3 separate regions of the Homo sapiens genome follow, and all the other regions are linked to region 1. The links are contacts of gene promoters, found by promoter capture Hi-C in blood cells and fetal thymus (Javierre and others, 2016). All regions are on one chromosome and are shown on one strand. Each heading gives the region's core, a stretch centred on a gene start or on the middle of the fragment in contact. The rest is flanking DNA. Distances are from core to core; before and after follow the strand shown.

Region 1 (2,775 bases), core at 182-2,681:
AAACCCATGATGAACTAATTATCAAAATTTTAGGTAAAGACAGGATCCACCCAGCACTTGTATGATTCATCCTAATCCTGGCCGCGCCCCACAACTAATTATCAAAATTTTAGGTAAAGACAGGATCCACCCAGCACTTGTATGATTCATCCTAATCCTGGCCGCGCCCCACCGGACTCGTCACTAACGGTACTGAAAACTGACTACAGCCAAGAACTCACTCCGAGGCTGCAGAAAGGCACCAGAGGGAAACAGCAAAGGAGGATTCGCCGTTTTGGAGTTCACATCCCGTTGCTTCACTGGGCTGTAGCCATAAAGCTGAGTTCAGGGAATGCACTGCCCTACTTAAGTGCATATTCAAATTGTGAAAAGTTAAGCATCACTAATACTCCGGTACACTTTCATACTGACGTCCATGCCAGCCATCACTAAAAACTCCCTTGGCCACGGGGGTCCAGCCCAAGAGGGCGGGCACTTCTATTTATTCTTTTTTTGGGAGCAGGACTACTGTCTCCTACACCTGGCCCTTTAAGGAAAGGAACAAAAACCCAGGGGAGCGTAGCTGCACACTCAGTAAACTTAACGTTCCTATAAACCAGTAGCGTCTGAAGTGTGGTTGAAAATACAAATAAACGCGCTTGCAAGGAAGAAGTGCCTCGGTCCTACCCTCGGCCCCGCCGGAAGGCCCTGGGAGATGCAGCCGCAGGTCTCCTGCTACAGCCGCTGGGGAAGGCCGCACAGCCTCCTCGCCCACCCCGGAGGAAAAAATCGCGGGGGACTCCAGTGCGCAGGCGCCGACCCGCCAACTCCGCAGCCACAGCCCGCCAAGGCGCCTGCGCAGAGGCGTGGGTCAAGGGGAGGGTCGAGTTAGGAGGGAGAGCAGAGCGCGCGCGTAAATCCTAGAGAGGCGGGCTAAGCTGGACTGGGGGGAGGGTCCGTCTTCCGGAAAGTCTGGATTCCCGGACGAGCCGAGTTGCTGCTCACCGAACTCCCGTTCGAGAGATGATCGAAGAAAGTCGGCTACCATTTGTACCCATCAAAGATCTCCAGATGGAAGCCAGCGCTGAATTTGGGCTGAGATTAGGACTTGCAGGAGGCCGGTCCAGAAGACGGCGGAAGGAATCTTGGCGGGCGCACGCATGCGTGATAGACCCTCCACACGTGTGGCCGGGCCGCGGCCTCCCCGTGCTCGGAGGTCCCGCCCCCGGCCGTAGCATCTTTCCGGACGTGGGGAGCCGGTAAGCTGGAAGGGGGCTGGGCTTCGCGGCTCGGCCCCGCCTCGGCAGCCTCCAATTGGGCGCGGACGAGGGCGCCCCCACCCACTGCCCTCCTATTGGTGCGCGCATGCAAGCGACGCGTCTCATTGGACCGCGCGGATTTAGGCACCAAATTCAAAGATTTTAAAAGTACCAGCTGGCGCCTTTTAAGAGATACAGGTCTGTGAAGCAGGCAGGTTGCTCAGCTGCCCCCGGAGCGGTTCCTCCACCTGAGGCAGACTCCACGTCGGCTGGCATGAGCCGGCGCCCCTGCAGCTGCGCCCTACGGCCACCCCGCTGCTCCTGCAGCGCCAGCCCCAGCGCAGTGACAGCCGCCGGGCGCCCTCGACCCTCGGATAGTGAGTGAGGGGAGCGGTCGCGAGGGGGGCGCGCACGCCAGGAGGGGTGCACGGGGAGGGTCGCAGCCTGAGACCCTGACCCGACGTCCCTCGGAGCCTGGACGCGCGGCCATGCCACACGCCCGGCCTCGGGCGGCGGCAGCGGTTCCTGGGTCCGGGAGGAGGGCGGCTGGGTGTCGGGGGGAAGCCAGAAGAGCCAGATGTGCAGGGGCGGGATGGCGGGCCGCGGGGTCCCGCCACCCACGCCGACCGTGGACTCCAGCCCCGGGAGGTGCGGGTCGTGGCATCCCAGGGCGCCCTTTTTCCTCCTCGGAAGACCCACCTACCCCACCCTGCTTGAATAGGCGCCAAATGCCCCTCCCCTCCCCCACCCCGGGGCCCCCGGCGGTGACAGGGCTGCGAGCGAGAAGCCCCCAGGGCCTGGCCAGGTGCCTCACCTTCTCCCCCTGCGCCCCTTTTCTACATCTGCCCCGCACCCTCACAGCCAAAGGCAGTTTCCCCGATTTTTCGCGGTCCCAGCCTTGCTGGCGGGCGCGGGAGATCGCGCTCGCGGTTATCTCCCGCCTCCTCCGCGTGTCCCGCGCCCTGAGGGGCAGCCCCACCGATCCCTCAGGAGTTCCAGGGTCTCCCTCCCCACTCCCGCCAAATGGAGAGACACCCCCCCAACTCATTGGACCAAACTCAACTGGGACATCCAAACAAAAACGTTACTTTTTCCCAATTTTTTCTCCCTTTGCCCGTTAACCCAGTCTCAGGGCCTGGAGTGGAAAGGGAAGACTTTAAAAAAAGCAATTTTTACTACGAACCTTGAATTTGTCCATAGTATTAAGATGATTTTGTAAGAATCGAAGAATTGGTGACTTTTTCCCGATAACTCATGAAGAATTAGATAGTCCTTTATTTCAAAGCTTGCAGAGAATGGAATGCACTCAAATGCTTATTTTTATCCTCTTTGTTGCTACCTCTAAATAAAATCTATATGCACTTATTTTTACCTGAGAAATAACCCAAAATGAAAAAATTTAGCAATTCGGCATTGTACTATTTTGTAATGACTCTATTATTAAAAAAGAACTCTAGAAAAAAATACTTAATTTTAATTTTAATAGATTAAATATATTTCTAGAAGATCCTGGATCGTCAGTCTACCATCGAAATTC
Region 2 (2,775 bases), core at 155-2,654, 1.5 Mb after region 1:
TTAGTGCAGATGGGCTTGGCCAGTACCACATGATGGTGAAGCAGACGTGAGACAACAGGGAGAGGCAGGGACAGTGTGGGCTGGAGACCCTGGGCCCCCCTACTCTATCCTAGTCCATTATTATAGCCAGATCTTCCACTCGGTCAGATGATGATGGAAATCTGGATTTTGTGTGAAATCTCTCAGTTTATTGTTGACAAGTCAATTTGAATTTTAGAAACGTGATGTAGGTCAACTCTTGAGTTGGATGGTTCTCCGAGCTGCCAGTTTACAACTCCGATTCTAGCAAAAGAGACAGCCTCTGCCATTTTCAGTACAGCTACAGGAAGATCCTTCAGTGGACTAGCTTGTGACCTGCTTATCTCCTTTTTGTGCCTCTTGCTCTTCCCACTTCAGCCCAAACTAAGCACATGAGCTGTAGCCATCACAGAAGTAATTCTGACATCCAACCTAATGTACTGTGATTTCACCTAGCAAGCTTGAGTGAATTTGCCAGGTCTTGCAGAGTGGAGCCTACCCGATGTCTCGCCTGATGCCCCTTGCTAGGATTCCTTTCTTTCAGCTGGCCGAATCTTTACACACATCGTACATCAGCTAGTTTTAACTCCATGAAGCCTTAAAAAGAACTAGTGCTCACAGGTCTAAACCTTAAGCACGTGCCTGTTCCCTGTACTCTGGTAACTCCTGATACATTTTTATTTGTATATCCCCGTGTTCCTACTTTCATATGTGACTATGGGAATTAGCTAATTTGGAAGGAATTAGCAGTTATCTGCTCATAATTAGGGTACTACATCCATTTATCCCCACATTCCCCAGTAATTTCAGCTTGTCTGACTTTTTTTCTAATTGGATTAGTCTCATTTTGTTTATGAGTAGATACTTTATTGATTTTGGATTTTTCAGTTTGCATGGATCCTCAGGTTCTCTGTTATTCCTCTACCTTTAAACCACGCATCAGAGCTGTGGAACAGATTGAGGAAGGGCAAATGGGGTCAGGCCATTTCATGAGAAAGAGCCAGGAGATACAGAATGGAGGTGGGAGGAAGGAATGAATTAATATATACTTCTCTAGAATTTCATACCAGGAATATACAGAATGGGAAAGAATTGGGGAGCTGAGAGGAGTAAATCCTAAGAATAAATGTTGATTTAGTGACTCATAAACTTGTTTTGGCCAACTAGAATCTAACAACTACTGAACAGTTGTGTTAGCCACAGTCCTGAGCACTTTGTTTATTAGCTTATTTAAACTTTACAACAACCCCATAAAGTAGGCATTATTGTTATTCTGATACTCTTTTAAAATTGTAACCAACTTCTGTGCCTAAAATCTTAACTCTTATGCCAATAGCTTTCAAACTTTATTGACCACATCTTATAGTGAGAAATATATTTAACATTTTACATACATAGCGACCTAGAGTAGATACATAGATACATGTAAGTGACAGAAAACTTCATAAAATAGCATTTCCTGTGAATAATGCACTGTAATATTTTCTATTTAGTTTTATTAAAAAAGCTGTTTTGGGCCAACTAAATTGGTATCAGAACTCACTAATGTGTTGTGACTTACAGTTTGAAAAAACACAGCATTGAGCCATAGTGCTTACCATCTGTATTTTATATAGACACAAGATGACTTTCCTCATGTGTGCAAAGGCAAGATGGGGCATGAGACAAAGTACAAACCAAACCAAGACACATGCTCAGATTTACAGACCTTTTTGTTAAATGTTAACCAGTGTAAAAATACTGTAATTCCTTTGGGGATTTAAAGGAATCTGCCTGTACAAGAGTAGTTACAAATTAGGAAATGACCTCAAATACTAATGTTGCTTTGAAAAAGAGTCATGGAAACTCAGGGTTGGAGAGACTTAAACATTCCATCCAGTCACCCATGTGATGCCTTAATCATCTCTATTTTGCATTCAATCTGTGCTTGAGATACTACCAGTTGAGTGTGGCTTCCCTTTCAGAATAATCCATTCCATCTTTTTGCCTGGCGGGAGGGAGCAAGTTCTTTTCAAGATTGAGCTGAAATTTGCCTCCCAGTAACTTCATTCTCTTCATCTTCATCCCATCCCTTGTATCACCCTTGGAGATGTTTGAAGAAAATTCTGGAGTTCTAGCTTTGCAGAATGGAGTCCAGTAGGGTGCTCAGCAGCCGTCACAGATGCTTCAGCCTCTTGGTAACCCATGTTATGCTCATTTCCCTGGAACAGGACCTAATGCACTGCACAGCATTTGCAACGGCAGATGAGTATCATCTGGGAAATCTGTCTCAAGATCTGGCCTCCCACGGATATGTTGAAGTAACAAGCTTGCCTAGAGGTACTTCTTCTTGAACCTGGGGCCAAGTATGTTAAAATGTATTGGATAATTTTCCTATGATACTATCTTAAGTATGTATTTGTTTGCAATTCATTTTCTTTTGAAAGGATTGTATCATAAAAGTGGATGTTGAATCTCTTTATAAAGATGACAAAGTTAAGAATTAAAATGTATTTACAGAGAACTCATTAAAATCAGTATGATTTATTAAGATTATTTATAGGATCATTATTACTTGAGGTGGTCAGAGGTCATACTACTTCATTTCTAGCACATTAAGAAGTTATTTTAGTTTGTGTGTGTCTGTGTGTGTTTTGTGTTTTTTTTTTTTTTGTTTTTTGGGATGGAGTTTCACTCTTGTTGCCCAGGCTGGAGTGCAATGGCGCGATCTCAGCTCACTACAACTTCCGCCTCCCAGGTTCAAGCGATTTTCCTGCC
Region 3 (2,775 bases), core at 113-2,612, 1.5 Mb after region 1:
TATCTGTGTCAATTTACATCTTGTTCTGTGCTCAGTAGAGTGTGAAATGGGGGAGGGCTGGAGAGACAATAAACTCTGCCTTCAGTCACCTGGTGATTACGGGCATACAGGCCAAGTAGCAATATACTAGGACTTCATTAATTACTACATTTTAGATCACTCTGGCCGAAAAAACTGAAATTACAAAAGCATTATGGGGCCAGGCACAGTGGCTCACGCCTGTAATGCCAGCACTTTAGGATGCTGAACTGGGAGAATTGCTGGAATCTAGGAGTTTGAGGCTGCAGTGAGCTATGACTGCACCACTGCACTCTGCCTAGTAGACAGAACAAGACCCTGTCTCAAAAAACAACAACAAGAAAAACAAAAGTATTATGGTAATTTGCTTGCGTATATGACCAAATACTAAAGTGAACTATCCAAATTTGGCTAAATTATACTTGTGTGATAAAGATATGTCAGTTACCAAAATTATGTTTATGTGATAAACATTAAAACCATTCAGCAATATAATTGTCAGTGTCTAAATTAAGCCGGATTTTAGCAACAAGGAACAACAGGTAATCCCTGTGTTATGCCAGGATTAGTTTTAAACAAGACAATATAAAAGAAGTTGAAAGAAGTAGAACATTACACTCAAACTGCATGTGTGTTATCTTGCTCCATTTCAATTTGGCCAAGGAGAAAAGATCACCAACCATTTCTCTAAATTTTTGTTTTCAACTCTCAAAAAAAATGTACTGGTATATGTATGCTCTTTTACAGTCTATTGTGTAATAGAAAGATTACTGAACCTACAAGTTTAAAGACCTATGTCTAACATAACATGTGGGGAAAAGCAAGAGAGATCAGATTGTTACTGTGTCTGTGTAGAAAGAAGTAGACATAGGAGACTCCATTTTGTTCTGTACTAAGAAAAATTCTTCTGCCTTGAGATTCTGTTAATCTATAACCTTACCCCCAACCCCGTGCTCTCTGAAACATGTGCTGTGTCAACTCGGAGTTAAATGGATTAAGGGCGGTGCAAGATGTGCTTTGTTAAACAGATGCTTGAAGGCAGCATACTCCTTGAGAGTCATCACCACTCCCTAATCTCAAGTACCCAGGGGCACAAAAACTGCGGAAGGCCGGAAGGCCGCAGGGACCTCTGCCTAGGAAAGCCAGGTATTGTCCAAGGTTTCTCCCCATGTGATAGTCTGAAATATGGCCTCGTGGGAAGGGAAAGACCTGACCGTCCCCCAGCCCGACACCCGTAAAGGGTCTGTGCTGAGGAGGATTAGTGTAAGAGGAAGGCATGCCTCTTGCAGTTGAGACAAGAGGAAGGCATCTGTCTCCTGCCCGTCCCTGGGCAATGGAATGTCTCGGTATAAAACCCAATTGTATGTTCCATCTACTGAGATAGGGAAAAACCGCCTTAGGGCTGGAGGTGGGACATGCGGGCAGCAATACTGCTTTGTAAAGCATTGAGATGTTTATGTGTATGCATATCTAAAAGCACAGCACTTAATCCTTTACATTGTCTATGATGCAAAGACCTTTGTTCACGTGTTTGTCTGCTGACCCTCTCCCCACAATTGTCTTGTGACCCTGACACATCCCTCTCTCGGAGAAACACCCACGAATGATCAATAAATACTAAGGGAACTCAGAGGCTGGCGGGATCCTCCATATGCTGAACGCTGGTTCCCCAGGTCCCCTTATTTCTTTCTCTATACTTTGTCTCTGTGTCTTTTTCTTTTCCAAGTCTCTCGTTCCACCTTACGAGAAACACCCACAGGTGTGGAGGGGCAACCCACCCCTTCAATAACATAGTTATTTGGATTTTTCCTCATCCATTAATTGAATGGACAAAGTGATTTCTAAAGTCCTATTCTGCACTGAATGCTAATGAGTCCCAACTTGAATCAGTACAATGTGTCAATCAATTATAATTCATATCACTGAGCTTTGCATAGCAGCTTGAACTTCCAGGACTCAAGATCTCAAATTAGTAATATAAATACTGCAACTCAAATTAAACTTGAAATTTAAAAAGCTCTTCTAAGCAACTCAATTGCTTAGTCACTTGACTAAGTCAATTGCAAGTCTGTTGCCCAGTCACCAATTACAACATTGCATATATTAGAAAATACATTCTGAAGTCTAAATAACTGACAGAATTAATTATTGGAACACAATCATTTTCTAAATTGAAGATTGGCTGTTCTATCTTCATTTCAATGTATTACCTTAAAAACAAATAAATACTTGGCCCATCTATTGATTTTTACATTTAAAGGAAAATTGATACCTTCAAGAACTATTTATTATGTTTCTGTTGAGAAATTAACAAAAAATTAAAAGTTAAAACAATTCTTACCTCTCCGTGTTTCTCAAAAAATTCACTTTTATGTCGATGCAATGTATCAATAACCTTAGTTAAGATCTGTGGTATTCTGTCTTTAATTGTAAGATATGCAAATGATCTAGAAAAGAGTCACATGCAATATATAACTTAGCAGCATCAATACTAGAAGACTGGCTATCTTTTAGTTTCTGGAACACTTCATGTATATTAAACTCCTCATACAACTATTAAAAGATAGACAAGTATTGTATGATTACTATATTAAGACATAAGAAAACCTGGAAAATTCGCTGGTATGTCATGGAAGCCAAACTGTCTTGGTGCCTCTAATCCCAGATTCTCCCATGGAGTCTGTTTAATCATTCTTATCTTTCCTATTCTATTGCTTTTATTTTCCTAAATCAGAAACTCGCTTAGCAAAGTGATAG

Evidence for each region. Contacts are between HindIII fragments. The CHiCAGO score rates a contact against its expected background, and 5 or more counts as called.
Region 2: a contact is called between a fragment that was not itself captured here and the fragment with the promoter of FBXO5 in region 1, in 1 of 17 cell types (non-activated CD4 T cells). The highest score is 5.7, in non-activated CD4 T cells.
Region 3: a fragment that was not itself captured here is called in contact with the fragment with the promoter of FBXO5 in region 1 in 2 of 17 cell types (non-activated CD4 T cells and naive CD4 T cells); the score reaches 7.2 in non-activated CD4 T cells.

The regions. Positions count from the first base shown.
Region 1 is chr6:152,981,697-152,984,471 of GRCh38, reverse strand. It overlaps FBXO5 (F-box protein 5), which reads left to right and starts at 1,431. Exons shown (of 5, transcript NM_012177.5): 1 at 1,431-1,615. The coding sequence starts at 1,513. RefSeq lists enhancers at 468-587, 878-1,097 and silencers at 1,128-1,447, 1,928-1,997. The HindIII fragment of the contact is 9,521 bases long and covers 1-2,525 here.
Region 2 is chr6:151,436,008-151,438,782 of GRCh38, reverse strand. It overlaps RMND1 (required for meiotic nuclear division 1 homolog), which reads left to right. Exons shown (of 12, transcript NM_017909.4): 3 at 2,229-2,337. Among named protein-coding and RNA genes, the nearest start is that of RMND1, 15 kb to the left of the region's middle. The HindIII fragment of the contact is 1,848 bases long and covers 481-2,328 here.
Region 3 is chr6:151,454,238-151,457,012 of GRCh38, reverse strand. It overlaps DCPH1 (damage control phosphatase 1), which reads right to left. Exons shown (of 5, transcript NM_024573.3): 2 at 2,360-2,465. Among named protein-coding and RNA genes, the nearest start is that of DCPH1, 3.2 kb to the right of the region's middle. RefSeq lists a silencer at 925-1,219 and an enhancer at 854-1,611. The HindIII fragment of the contact is 3,808 bases long and covers 1-2,775 here.